3 separate regions of the Homo sapiens genome follow, and regions 2 and 3 are each linked to region 1. Evidence: promoter capture Hi-C in 16 types of primary human blood cells and fetal thymus (Javierre and others, 2016). All regions are on one chromosome and are shown on one strand. Each heading gives the region's core, a stretch centred on a gene start or on the middle of the fragment in contact. The rest is flanking DNA. Distances are from core to core; before and after follow the strand shown.

Region 1 (4,754 bases), core at 959-3,458:
GCCCAAGTGAGCATGCTAACCCAGCGTTCTTGAGAAGAGTGGAGAGGCAGAGCTGCCCTTACTGCTCCCAGCTCCTCACATGGTGACAGAGTGCACTATTCCTAGAAGCAGAAGGGAAAACAAATGCCAGCAGCACAGCCATCCTCCCAAACCTACCACTTCCTTCTCTTCTAAACTGATTCCCAAACCCATTCTCTTGTACCTAAAAGAACTAAAAGCCAAAACATCGAAATCAAGTTGGATTCTGACTTCAGAAAAATCTATCCACTTATATTCTCAATGCCTGCCTGACCAGCCAGCTTCCACCTTCTTTCAGAGAACAAGCTCTTTGGAAGCAATGTAAGTCGCATGGCATTCAGGCATCCGTCCTATAGGCATACAAATGCCATACCCACCTTTTTTTTTGTTTTCAGATATTCCTTATTATCTGAACCTCACTTTCTTCAAATATTAATTGGAGATAATATCTCCTGAAAGAGCTGCTCTGAGAAATATACGTGACTATGACTATTCGGTACCCAAAATAGAGTAGGCACTAAATAGTGACTAATTCATTCTTTTTCTCCGTCCTACATTCCTCCTAAGTGGAGAATCATCCAAATCATTGGGTGAGTGTGCTCTCGTCTCTAACTAGCACCTGCCACCATGATTGGATGGTTAGGACTGAAAAGTGCTATCTTATTTAAATAAGACATAGAATGGGAATTAAAGGATGAGTTACAGACATTATTGATTATAGCTATGACCAAACCAATGAGCTGAAAGTGACAGGCTCTTCCTTTTTCTTTAAAACAATCCTTGAAAAATATCTGAGCTATTTAGTCTCCTGGAAAACTGTACATGGGAAACCCCGATCTCCAGAAAGTAAAAAGGGCCCCCAAAAATCGACCTTTTTTTTTTTCTCTGCCAGCTTGTCAAATGGAGAAAAGAGAACACAAACATGAAGGCTGGATTTGGGGCTTCTAACACATTTTAGCAACTTATTTTACATATATATATATATATATATATATATATATATATATATATGTAAAACATTATCTGGGGCAAGGTCTAACACATTTCAAACCATTATGACAGAGGCAATTTGAAGTCAACTATCACAGGACATGTGATAAAGTTACTTTAAGGTTATCAAGAAATTACTTGATTTGTTCACTGATTTCTATCTTATGTGTTAGGAACTTTTCATTATTTTACAAATTAGTAAGTCATTGCTCCTAAAATTAAAAAAAAAGATGAACATCCAAACTTAATGGATTCAACAGACATTCTTAACATTCAATTTACACATTTAGCTACTGAAAATAAAACTTCATTCTTCCTTTCCCCTTCATTTTCTTATTTCCCGTTTGTTATCTGTTGAGGGAGAGAGAGAGCGCGCATCACAGGAAGGGAACCTCCAATACTTTGTCAATATTAAAGGAACCATAAAATATCAGGTTTTCTAAAGAAACACCAACAATTCTCCTAAGAATAAATATGTAGCATATTCACATATGTAAATTACTATAATAAAATTAATATTATTATGTGTAATTTATCCCCAATAATTTCATATGTATATATGTGAGGTGTGTGTATACACGTGAGTGTATCTGTATAGTCATTCTTTCTCTCACACACACATACACTCAATAAATCCAAAAGGCATGCTCTGTGAGGTTCTAAGAGAAAAGGACTTAAATTGCCCAGGGAGCGGAGCAGCCTTTAAATAAATCTGAAGTGCTCTTGTAATTGAGGTACAGCTCCTGCTTTTCAGCAAAGCACTGGTGCTGAGGCCTCTTCATTTAGAAATTCTCAAATTCTTTTTTCAGATATTTGTTCCCTGGTCAGCTTAGTCCCATTGGCACTTTCACCTGAAAAGGAGGGAGGTGGCGAAATAGAAATACGTGCCCCGACTCGGGAAGTGGGAGTCCCTTTCACACCCCAGCAATTGATCCCCTCTCTCCTCGCCGGCCCGCCCGCCGCTGCTCTTCTTCCAGGCACAATCGAAGAGGAGGCAGTGAGCGAGTCAAGGCCACAGAGTGGATGGAATCAAGGTTCACCCCCAAAGCTCACCTCCTTTGCAACCCGGATCCCCACTCCTCACCACCTACGGCCCCTCTTCCCTTCCATCCCCGCCCAGTCACCCAACGCTGAAGCCACCGCGGGGTGTGGGGGGGTGACGTGTGGGAAGAGCTGGGGGCTTCCTTCGCACCCACCCTCACGCGCCCTAGAATGTCCTCTGGGGAAGGGGCTGCCCATAACTTGGAGGAACTTAGAAGGCAAAACCTACTGCGCCCCAACCCTTAGAGGGGCCTCAACCCCGAAGGCGAGGGGCGAGATCAGGGACTCGGCGACGAGGGCGAGCGCCCCCGGGCTTACCACGAGCACGGGGACCCCGGCGGCCAGCGAGTAGAGGAGCACGGGGGGCACGGCGCTGCTGTCCTCCGGGCCCGGGTAGGGTTTGCGGTAGGCGCTGTCGTGGCAGAAGAAGCCCTGCACGTTCACGGTGAACGTGTCCGTATACTCGAAGTAGTACGCCAGCATCACCGTCCCTGCCATGATCACCATCTGGAAATAGAGCATGCTGCTGGTGAGCGCCGCGGGCAGCAGGGGCATGCACGCCTCCCGGGCCGGGCCGAGCCGAGCCGAGCGGGCGGTCGACGCGGTGGGCCCCCTCCCCGGTCCGCCGAGGCAGCCACCGGGGGCGCGGCGGCGGAGGCGGCGGGAGGACGAGGCACGGGAGGCGGGATGGAGCCGCTGGAGGAAGAGGCGGAGGCAGGTCCGGGCTTCGAGGCGCCGGCAGGCTGCAGAGGAGGCGGCTACCCCCGGACGAGCCCCCTCTCCCCTGCCCGCCCCCTGCCCGCCGCAAGCGCCGCCCGCCCCGGCGCGGGGTCGCGAGGGAGGGCGGGGAGTCCCGGGCGACGGGCAGCGGCCGCTGCGCCCCTGCACGAGACCATTCGAGAAGCAGCGGCGCTGGGTCAATCCCCCAGGCTAGCCCGGAGGAGGCGCTGCGTGGGCGGACGGGGCGGCAGCCGGCGGGACAGCGGCACCTGTACCCCTCACAGGGCGGACGCTGTGGGGCTGGAGAAGCTCCTGGCGGGGGTAAAATCAAAAGGGGGGGAGGGGAGGCAGTAGAGATGGAGCTTCCAGAAACTCTTCCGAGGCACCAGCTGAGAGGTTTAAGAAACCCGCACAACGCCTGGGAAAATGGTGCGTGGACGCGTCTTCCGAGCGCAAAGCCCACCAAGGCGCAAAGTGCCGATGCGGCGCCCAGAGTTTCAACCGGTGCGTTCAGCCTGCATCCCTCGAATTCCTTGACCCAGCCCGGGGCTGGAGCCTGGCGGTGGTTTCTAGGCGCTGTTAGAAAAATCTCAGCGAGGTTTCTTTGCCTCCTCTGCAGCTTCCTAGGGCTTTGTGTATATATATATGTATATACAAATAATAATAGAAATCATAGCCCAGTAGCTCCCGAAGCATCATCTCTTGTACAGCGGCCCCTTCCTGGATCCATGCATTCTCTTGCTCATCTTTTCAGTCTGTCTTTATTAGCTGCTTGTGAGAGGAGGCATTGCAGATTCCAGGCACTGAGCGGTCCCAGCCACCAGGGTAGGAAAAAGGACTATTTGCCTCATCTCGTTCTTTATTCCCTGAATTCCAGGGAACTGCAGGGATTCCTCAGGGGTCGGGATAAAGGAGAGGGAGACCAATGCTGGCTCACAGCACATGCATACAAAAATTCATCCGTCCATGGCTATCCACGCCTATGCGTGGGTATGTAACTAACTATGGAACTGCATATGTGCAAGGAGCCCGTTCTGTCATGCCATGTGGGTCCCTGCTGCAAGCTTAGTCAGCAGACTCTCAAGGGGTCTTTCTTTGAGCCTCAGGCTGACACTCCTCTACTCCAGTGAGCAGGTGAGGAAGCATGAATACAAGCAAGAGGAGGAAAATATTTTTAGAGCCCTGCCCTGCTCATTAAAACCTGGAATCACCTTAGCAGGGTTCTAGAATGTTGGTTCATTGTAATAGGCTGTAGCTTGATGAATTTTAGAGGTGGGCCTTTATCATCAGGAAAAACAAAACAAAACACTGTTGGCTTAAAAATCTGTTGAAATTTGGCAAATGATTGGTAGTTTTGGGATGGGATAGTAAAGGCAGTGTGAGTTTCTTTAATGTAGTATCATACATACCTCACCCTCCGCATTGTCGTAAACATAATTCCACAACTAATTACTTAGAGCTACAAGATAGACAACACTAAGCAATGTGTATAACAAGCAGTTTTGGGCAGTGGGAGTAAGCTGTTCCAAAATGGACATGAGCAGCTTATATTATGAAAATATAACTACTACAAAGATACATGTTTTAAGGCTTCATTAAGAAAATCATTCTGAGACTGTAAGGGTATTTAAACTGGTACTCTGGTTCTAAGTAGGAATCCCCCCAAACTATCTCATTCGCTGAGGAATGCCCCTGAAGTCTTGTTTATAGACATTTTTCCAATTTTTGGAAGAATGATGTTAATTTTTAAGGGCAACTCATTTCTTCAGTCTAATGAAAGTGAGCATTATTTTCACAATTAAGACTCATTGTATTGCGTTGTTAATGTGTATGGAGTGCCCAGCACAGTACATGCAACACAGCAGAGTCCTTGTCTGACCTGTTCACTGCTGTGTCCCCAGCATGAGCACTGCACTGTATTGCACATTATGGTTACTTAAGAAAAATTTGTCGAGTAAATAAACGAACTGACTCCTCTAAGTACA
Region 2 (4,754 bases), core at 611-3,110, 730 kb after region 1:
ACACTGCATAACACCGTCCGCCAACCTCCAAGCCATATCCTCAAGGGTATCCTACAAACACACACAATGGGTCTTCTCAGCACTTTCCAAAGATTTGCTAAAAATAAGATATGATCAAAATCCTGCCCTGTTCAGTTTCCTTTCTCTAAGATCGTATGTCCATGCTTTGTCTGCAGTGTCATTGTTTTTCCACTTCCTCTTTGAAGAGAACAAGAAACATTTTCTCCCAGTTTATTTGTCTTTATCCCACTTGGCAAAAAGAAAAAATATTATTTTTACTTTGAGCCAGAACTCCACAATTCCTCTACCTAGGTTAGAAATTTTAACAGATGTACTAACTCCATCTGGCCACTAGTATACAATCAAAAACATTGAAATAAACAATTAACAAGTACTACCCTAGTGGCCAAAATGCAACATGCAACTGGGGAGAAGTTCCAAGCCAGCCTTGGGAGTCAATCCCATGGGAAGGCTGTGCACAGTTATGTCATTAAGTAATAGCTACTGCTCCGTCAGAGCTCATTTGCTGTCATTAAGTGATAGCTACTGCTCTTTCAGAGCTCATTTGCTTGTCAACTGTCCTGCAAAAAAGACACTTCTCTACCAGAAATAGCCCACCTTTGACACACATGCCAACAAAGGGCACTTAAGACAACTGTCCAAGGCATCTCCAGCCTTCATCAAATGTGCTCCTCTTTCTCACTAGTCAAGAAATTTTGTCACTAATGTCATCCTGTCTTAGAAACCCGTCTGTAAGCTTTTGAAAGGAAGCTGATGCCCTGACCATCTTAATAAACCATAAAGTACTTTTTTGTAGGATACAACCAAAAGGATGTAAGTGACACAAGCAAGAATTCATCTTTTCCTACAACAGAAACTTCTGAAGTGTAGAAAAGTTTCTCAGAAATCATTATGAGAGGAGCCCTGCTGGCAGGCCCCTGCTCAGGCTAGGTGGAACTGTGGGGGTTGGAGGCAATCTAGCAGCACAGCCACGCCAGTGATAGCCACACAGCCGGAAAGCGGGTCTCCAGGTGGAGGTTCTCAGAATTTTCACACCTACCCTGGAGTCCATTACAGGGTGACTTCGCCCCGTTAAATGGGAAGGCTGGATGTACACAGTCTGATCTTCATGAATACACAGATAAGCATCATCATCACCCTGAAAAACAATTGCAAATGAGAAAAAAAGCTCAAAGGAATTTCAGCATTTTATTTTCTCTTTTTAAAAAAGTACATCAGGAAACCAAATATTATGTGATGCTTTGAAAACATAATTTACTGAATCATGAATGATGCTATGAATTCTAGAGAACTGGCTATCTGATTTGCGAATAGCAAATAATTTTGTTATAATACAAAAGCACTAGAATTTCAGTGTAAAATAATAGATTAAGATAGATATATAACATGTTTATATGTTCATAAACCCATCACTAATCGAACACCACTTTAATATTTTCATGTATATTCATCCAAACCTATTTGTATTATACCTATTTTTTCCTTCCCAAATGGGAAAATATAGAGTTCTGTTACCTTTTTTCAATTAACTTACCATAAACAATACTCCAGATATTTATTTATTAATAAATATCTATATCCTACATATTTTAATGACCAAATACACTGCATTGTACTGGATATTTTTTGGTAACTTCTAAGATGGAAGACACTGTAAAGAAATATTGCTACATAGTGTACATATTCAATAGATTTAATGTTATATAACTGAGGCAAAAATACCTGCACTCAAGGAGGAATTAGTCAAACAATCTACCTCTTATCTATCCTTTAGTCTCCAAAGATCCTTAACTCTGAAAGTTAGATCTTATTCTTTAAAGTGATAATCAAGCCAGACACAGTGACTCACACCCATAATTCTAGCACTTTGGGAGGCCAAGGCAGGAGGATTGCTTGAAGCCAGGAGTTTGAGATCAGCCTGGGCAATATGGTGAGACTTCATCCTAAAAAAAATTTTTTAAAAATCAGCCAAGCGGGCCGGGCGAGGTGGCTCACGCCTGTAGTCCCAGCACTTTGGGAGGCCAAGGCGGGCAGATCACGAGGTCAGGAGATCCAGACCATCCTGGCTAACATGGTGAAACCCCGTCTCTACTAAAAATACAAAAAATTAGCTGGGCATGGTAGTGGGCGCCTGTAGTCCCAGCTACTCAGGAGGCTGAGGCAGGAGAATGGCGTGAACCCGGGAGGTGGAGCTGGCAGTGAGCCGAGATCGCGCCACTGCACTCCAGCCTGGGCAACAGAGCGAAACTCAGTCTCAAAAAAAAAAAAAAAAAAAATCAGCCAAGCATGGTGATGCATGCCTGTGGTCCCAGCTACTCAGAAGGCTAAGGCAGGAGAATCACTTGAGCCCAGGAGGTCAAGTCTGCAGTGTGGCATGATCGTGCCACTGCACACCAGCCTGGGCAACTGAGGGAGACCTTGCCTCCAAAAAAGAGAAATAAAACAGAATAAAATAAAGTGATAATCAAAAAGCAGACTGTCAATTAATAGGGGGAAAAAGAATGAAAAAGAATACCAAAAAAGAAGCAGACTGTAACTTCAAAGTACATTTAAACAATGGCACAAAGGAATAATCTTGATTTTAAGTTATTATCCATGGTTTGGTCTTTCACTTGGTTTCTCCATAAACTATCTAACAAGGTTCTTTATGTGCTTTAGTCACCCAATTCCTTAAACAAGGTCCAAGACTACCCAGTTATAACAAATCTTGCTATAAATTCCAATATTAGATTCTAACATACTTCTATAGTTTCAGATTCAACTTTATTTTTAAATGTTCCACTTTTAAAAACTCTCAAGGATGTACTCTTAGCAAAGTAATTATGTACTGTTACACATATTACAGTAAAATCAGAATTAGCCCAATTCCAGATAAGAAATTTGGAGCAATCATGACTTAAACCAGGAGTCAACAAACCATGGCCAGCAAATCAAATTCAACCTAAAGCTTGTTTCTATATAGCTCATAGTTTAAGAATGACTTCTACATACTTAGGTGGTGAAAAGAATGTTTCATGACAAATGAAAATAAATCAAACTGAAATTCAATGTCCATGTTTCATTGGAACACAGCCACATTTATTCATGTACATATCATCTATGGCTGCTTTTATACTACAACAGAGTTTAGTAGCTACAACAGAGACCATATTGCCCACGAACTCTAAAATAGTTACTACCTGGTCCTTACAGAAAACGTTTTTTGAACCCCGATTTATTTTTTATTTTTTAAAAAAGTAGAGATGGATTCTCGCCCTGTTGCCCAGGCTGGTCTTGAAATCTTGGGCTTAAGCAATCCTCCTGCCTCAGCCACCCAAAGTGATGAGACTACAGGTGTAAGCCACCATGCTGGGCCTGAACCCTGATTTAAACAATGCATGTTTTCTATAATATCCATCATGAATGAGACATAGAAATTCTTTTGTTACACAAAAAATTTTAATACAAATAATGGTTGATTTGAGGCAAACTGAGGATGAGAAGTCAAATAAAATCAATACAAGTAGACCTCCCAAATATTAGAGAAGATGATGGGGATAGACAGCAGGTAACTCTCAGTTCTCACTATTCCAAATGAAGAGTAAGTGAACGTGCTACTCCAACCTCAGGCTCCAGGCAGTTCTAGAAACCTCAAGTTTGAAAGCATAAAAGTACACCCTATAAGAACTTCCACCAAATCCCTGGGTTGTACTGAAGCTCTCTCCCCAGTTTGCCCCTCTCAAGTCAAGCATTTAGAGAGCATCCTATGAGAGAACATTAAGCTGGACACTGTGGGAGAAACAAAAATGACTTTATTATAAGAATATGGCTCTTATAACCTAAAGCTATATTTTATTGAGCCAGACAGATAGGTAAAGTGACATGAAAAGACAAATTATGTATGGCCAGAGAATTGAAAATGGCTTATCAGAAAAGACAGTAATTAAGCAGACCTTAGAAGATAAAACATATTTATAGGAGGACAAGGTAAAGATGAGATTAAAGGAAAGATTTTCCAAGTTGAAGGACTTCTAGGACCAATGATATAGAAATATGAAAATTTTAAGAAACAGGTAGTTTTGCTAGCTAAAATATATAAAGGATAAAAAGAGAGCTCTAAGGCTGAAAATTCTAGAAGTATTCCCAAAGTATTGAGCACCATGCTTTAAGAAAAGAACAGTTTTTCTATAATTATTATATAATTCTATAATTACTAAAGTTTTGCCAAAGGTTTGGAGGGATATTTTTGAGACAATTTTTTTTTTTTTTTTTGAGGCAGGATCTTGTTCTGTCACCTAGGCTGGAATGCAGTGGTGCAAATACAGCTCACTGCAGCTTTGACCTCCTGGGATCAAGTGATCCTCCCACCTCAGCCTCCCAGGTATCTGGAACCACAGCTGCATGCCACTACGCCCAGCTAATTTTTTATGAATTTTTTGTAGAGATGAGGGTCTCGCCATGTGTTCCCAGGCTCATCTTGAATTCCTGGGCTCAAGCAATCCTCCCACCACAGACTCCCAAAGTGCTGGGATTATAGGCATGAGCCACCACGCCCAGCCAAGACGATCTTAAATGTGGCTTGGGGAGAAAATTCCAATGGCTGTGTGAAGGATGAAATGAAAGAGGAAATCATGGAAGCAAGAGGACTAATGGCGGGTTACTACAGCAGTCCAGGAAGCAGACAGTAAAACTACAAGCCAAGTCAGAGATAGTGACAATGCAACAAAGAGAATGAAAGAGGTACGTCAAAGATA
Region 3 (4,754 bases), core at 683-3,182, 680 kb after region 1:
TGAGTCAGGAGAATCGCTCGAACCTGGGAGGCAGAGGTTACAGTGAGCCGAGATTGCACCACTACACTTCAGCCTGGGTGACAGAGCAAGACTCTGTCTCCAAAAAGAAAGAAGGAAAGAAAGAAAGAAAGAAAGAAAGAAAGAAAGAAAGAGAGAGAGAGAGAGAGAGAGAGAGAGAGAGAGAGAAAGAAAGAAAGAAAGAAAGAAAGAAAGAAAGAAAGAAAGAAAGAAAGAAAGAAAGAAAGAAAGAAAGAAAGAAAGAAACGAACACCCTATGAAGTTGTTAACATTGACCAGATCTCTAAATGTTGAATTGCTCCAGATTCAGGCCTTGGAATTCTTATCTCCTTCACTTTCTAGGGAAACTTATCCACTCCTGTGGTGATAAATACCAACTCCCAAATGTATATCTTCAAACCCAGACTTCTCTGAGCTCCAGTCTTGTATATCCAACTGTCTTCTCCATATCACACTTGATTGTCTCAAATTTAACACATCCCCCACAAATCCCCTTTCTTCTCTCTCCCAGATTTCTTCAGCCAATTGTATTGCATGTTTCCAATTATTCAGGTCACAAACAGTGGAATCACCTTGACATCTCCCTTTCTCTTATCCCCTGCATGTAATCATCAACAAATTCTGACAGCTCTTTCTGTCAAATATTTCTAGAATCCAACCACTTCTCACCCTTCTACTGGCAACCAACCTGGATTACACCATCTTCATCTAGATTTTTAGCACAATTGACCTCCATGTTTGCCCCATCCAGTCTATTTTCCACACAGCAGCCAGTGTAACTGTTTACATTTCAAGTCATAGCATGTTTCCTCTCTGTTCAAAATTCCAGTGGCTTCCCCAAAGCCCTTCCATGCACAAGGCCCTGCCTATCTGGTCATCTGCCTCCTCTCTGACTTCATTTCACCTTTCTACTCTCTTGGCTCTTCCTTCGCTCTCTATAGTTACTCTTCCATCTCTCTGGAGCACACTCCCTTTGAAACCCTCATGTTTCCCGCTCTCACTTCCTTCATGTCTCTGCTCAAATGACACTTTATCAGAGAAACTTCCCTCACCACACTGTGTGAAATAGTGCCCCCTCCTCAGGCTTTCTCTATATTCTTTATCTTGCTGTTTACAGCCCCTATCCTGCTTTTCTCATCAAAAATATTTTTTCTTCATAAATAAATGTGTTTATGTGTATATATATGTATGTACATACATCTGCAATATATACATATTTGTATTACACATTTATTAATGCAGGGATTGACAAACTATGGCCCAGGACCAAATCTAGCCCTGGCCTGATTTTGTACAGACACAAGCTAAAAATGGTTTTTATATTATTAAAAGGCTGTAAAAGAAAAAGGGGAAAAAAGATGAATAAGAAACAGAAAGCATATGTGGACTGCAAAACCTAAAATATTTGGCATCCGGCCCCTTATAGAAAAAGGTTGCCAGCCCCTGTATTGTCTCCCACTAGAACATAAACTCCTTGAGCTCAGGGACTTTGTTTTGGTCACTGTAAGATCCCCAGCACATAGAAGAGTGCCTGGTTCAAAGTAGATGCTAAGTAAATATTTTTAAAAGAATGAATGAATAAAGACAATGAGTTTTATTGTTTGTTTGTTTGTTTGTTAGCCCAGATCTCACTCTGTTGCCCAGGCTGGAGTGCAATGGTATGATCATGGCTCACTGCAAGCTCGACCACTCGGGCTCAAACAATCCTCCCACCTCAGCCTCCCATGTAGCTGAGACCACAGGTGTATGCTCAGCTAATTTTTTTTAATATTTGTAGAGACTGAGGTCTCACTATGTTGTCCAGGCTCATCTCTAACTCCTAGGCTCAAGCAATCTTCCTGCCTCAGCTTCCCAAAGTGCTGGATTATAGGCATGAGCCACTTCTCTCAGCCCAACACTGAGTCTTAGTGAGGTCAGGTGACTTGTCTAAGGTCACACAGGAAGCTGGCAGATGAACCAGGTTTCAAACCCAGGTCCACCTGATTCCACAGCTAGGCCCTGATGTGCAAGAGCTGCTTGAAGCAATGATTTGAACCTTCTTGTTTTCTACCAAAAGGCTTTCCTTTGTAGACTGTCTCTAACAGGCAAATTAGGTAAGCACCCTGTGGGACAGGGGATGAAAAAAGAAAGACATACAGTATGTTGCAGAAAACTTTTAAAAATTATATCATAACATATTTACATCTGATATCAACCATATTCAATGTACTTTCATATACATCATCTCTTAGTGTCACCACATATCTGTCTGTATATGGTAATGAGCGTAATCTGTAATTATGCTCATTACACACATTACAAAACAGAGTTTCAGAGAGGTTAGGGGAACTGGCTTTCACAAGAAATGAGTAGCAGAGACAGAATTGAATCCAGATTTATCACTTTTAGTGCAGAGCTTTCCCCTTTACCAAATTGGACCAACATATATCCCCACAGCTCTGCTGAAGGGTAAAAGTGCTGCCATGGATGTGGAGGAATTTTAATAAAATGGCAGTCACAGTTCAGTCACTTCTAAGAAACCAGGGGCTACTCCATTTCACTTAGAGGTCTGTGGCATACAAGAAAACCTCCTCAGTTATAAACGGCAATCTACCAATGGCCAGAGGCAGCAGCAAAGTAAGAACTTTGAAACTGAAGCAATGAGCAAGAGAGCTGTCAAGCTGACCACATCTTGGGCTTTTACTGGTGTGACAATAGTGCAGCATTTTTGAGCTGCCAGGCCCATGACCATCTTCAAGAAGGAAGCCAAGAAAACTGACAGTTCTCTTAGCTGACACGAATATCCACAGCTGTCACCTCCTGGACCAGCTGCTGAATCTAATCAGCCATCCTCTGAGGCAGCTGACTTTAGAGCCTTAGTGTATTTGGCTGAGAAACCATGTGTGTTACGTGGCTGCCAAGGGCCAGCCTTCTGCGTGATTGCCAGTGTCTCTATGTTTTTATAGAGGAGAGGTCACGATGCTGCCCCCTGGAGTTCATTTGAATCTGACACGCAGCTGTACACTGGCCAAGATACCAGCTCAGAATGCTTGCAACAGTCTAGTTTCAAATGTCTGTCTCTTTGTTGCTGTAAGTTCCTTATGCTGTGTCAGGCCATGTGTGCCCTACCCCCCGCCCAGAAAATGTAGCCTCTATAAACAGCAGCAGTTGAAGCTACTGTACTATATTTGGTCCATTTCTGCATCTCTTCACCCTCCTCACTATAATATGGCCCAACTCTTAGGAAACTGAAATTAAATCAAAGTGTCATTTTCAATGGTAGAATATGCAAGAATTTTAAGTACTAAATGACTATGATTATTAAATCAGTTTAATAATTATAATGTTTTCTTCAAATAATTTATATGATGACTTGGATATGAAAACCTGATGAACTACATAATAACTACAAATGTACCATTCCTTTCGGTACAACTTTAAACTTATGTCTCTGTATTTTAAAAATCTCTTTTATTTGGAAATAACATTAGTAATTGCAATGAAGAACATGGAGCAAAGGTCAAATGCTTTACCTAATATATTCCTTTGTCAAAAAAAGAAAACTTGAAAATCGTTCAAAGTCGGGCATTAGGTATCTTCCATATATTAAGTATCATGCTTAGTGTGATGCTAAGTGTGACATTATATTCTTAGAAAGTGTCTGGCTACTTACATGCATATTCCAAGGAAACTTTATATATGGGGAAGACATATTTGAGAACTCCGCATTTGTACTGTGTTAAGCAATAAAAAGTATACCTTTTTGTTGTCAGGCTTGAGAAAGAGATCCAAGATCTTGAAAAAGCTGAACTGCAAATCTCAACGAAGGAAGAGGCCATTTTAAAGAAACTAAAGTCAATTGAGCGGACAACAGAAGACATTATAAGAGTGAGCATTAACCAATTTTAAAACTGTAATTCTCTCTCAAAATGAATCCACAAATACTATATAATTTTTCAAAGCATATCCACATTTAGATTCTATTTTTTAAACTGTATTAATCATGGAGAATTCTTTTTTCTTACAGTCTGTGAAAGTGGAAAGAGAAGAAAGAGCAGAAGGTATGTTTTTGAATAACTTATTTTATGTTAAACTAAGTTTTTTTGGTAATTTGAAATTGTTCCCATTGTAAATATATTCTAAATGTATTTTGAATTCATATTAATTTTACAGAGTCAATTGAGGACATCTATGCTAATATCCCTGACCTTCCAAAGTCCTACATACCTTCTAGGTTAAGGAAGGAGATAAATGAAGAAAAAGAAGATGATGAACAAAATAGGAAAGGTATATGAGAAATCTGTGTTGAAGGGCATGTTCTTAATTTCAGATTTTACAGTGTCAAATATTCACAACTTGCTATGACATATTATTCTTCCAGGTTAAGCAATGGTTCACTTTACAAAGTTCTGTGAGTTATGTGAGTCACCGCATAGGTGAGGATAATGAGGGTATAATAATAGCATTTATTCCATGCATTTTATTCCCTAACAAACCAGACAGGGATAAGGAAGATAGAGACCCAAAGGAGACAAGAAGCTCTTAAAAGCATAGATTCCCTGGTCAAAAATATTTCTCCTGACATATTCCATCCAATAGAACCTCTTTGGGGGTTACAAAGATCTTTTTTGAAAATGAAAATATTCCTTTGGGAAGCTTAGGCCTTATTTACCTCCATGGGAAATTGAGTTACATAAAACTGATGCTTCAAAGCTTCTAGAAAAATGAAGGTTTGCATTAGAGCAGAGAGGAAAACT

What was found. The method cuts DNA at HindIII sites, captures the fragments that hold promoters and counts their contacts. A CHiCAGO score of 5 or more calls a contact.
Region 2: a fragment that was not itself captured here is called in contact with the fragment with the promoter of PLPPR5-AS1 in region 1 in 1 of 17 cell types (endothelial precursors); the score reaches 5.7 in endothelial precursors.
Region 3: a fragment that was not itself captured here is called in contact with the fragment with the promoter of PLPPR5-AS1 in region 1 in 1 of 17 cell types (M1 macrophages); the score reaches 6.1 in M1 macrophages.

The regions. Positions count from the first base shown.
Region 1 is chr1:99,002,068-99,006,821 of GRCh38, forward strand. PLPPR5-AS1 (PLPPR5 antisense RNA 1) reads left to right here and starts at 2,209. Exons shown (of 3, transcript NR_033940.1): 1 at 2,209-2,578. PLPPR5 (phospholipid phosphatase related 5) reads right to left here and starts at 2,794. Exons shown (of 6, transcript NM_001037317.2): 1 at 2,368-2,794. The coding sequence starts at 2,604. RefSeq lists an enhancer at 1,652-2,626. The HindIII fragment of the contact is 4,191 bases long and covers 1-3,831 here.
Region 2 is chr1:99,728,590-99,733,343 of GRCh38, forward strand. FRRS1 (ferric chelate reductase 1) reads right to left here. Exons shown (of 17, transcript NM_001361041.2): 8 at 1,061-1,159; 9 at 1-51. Among named protein-coding and RNA genes, the nearest start is that of FRRS1, 36 kb to the right of the region's middle. The HindIII fragment of the contact is 2,211 bases long and covers 756-2,966 here.
Region 3 is chr1:99,682,906-99,687,659 of GRCh38, forward strand. PALMD (palmdelphin) reads left to right here. Exons shown (of 8, transcript NM_017734.5): 4 at 3,771-3,885; 5 at 4,025-4,058; 6 at 4,171-4,284. Among named protein-coding and RNA genes, the nearest start is that of PALMD, 39 kb to the left of the region's middle. The HindIII fragment of the contact is 5,437 bases long and covers 1-4,651 here.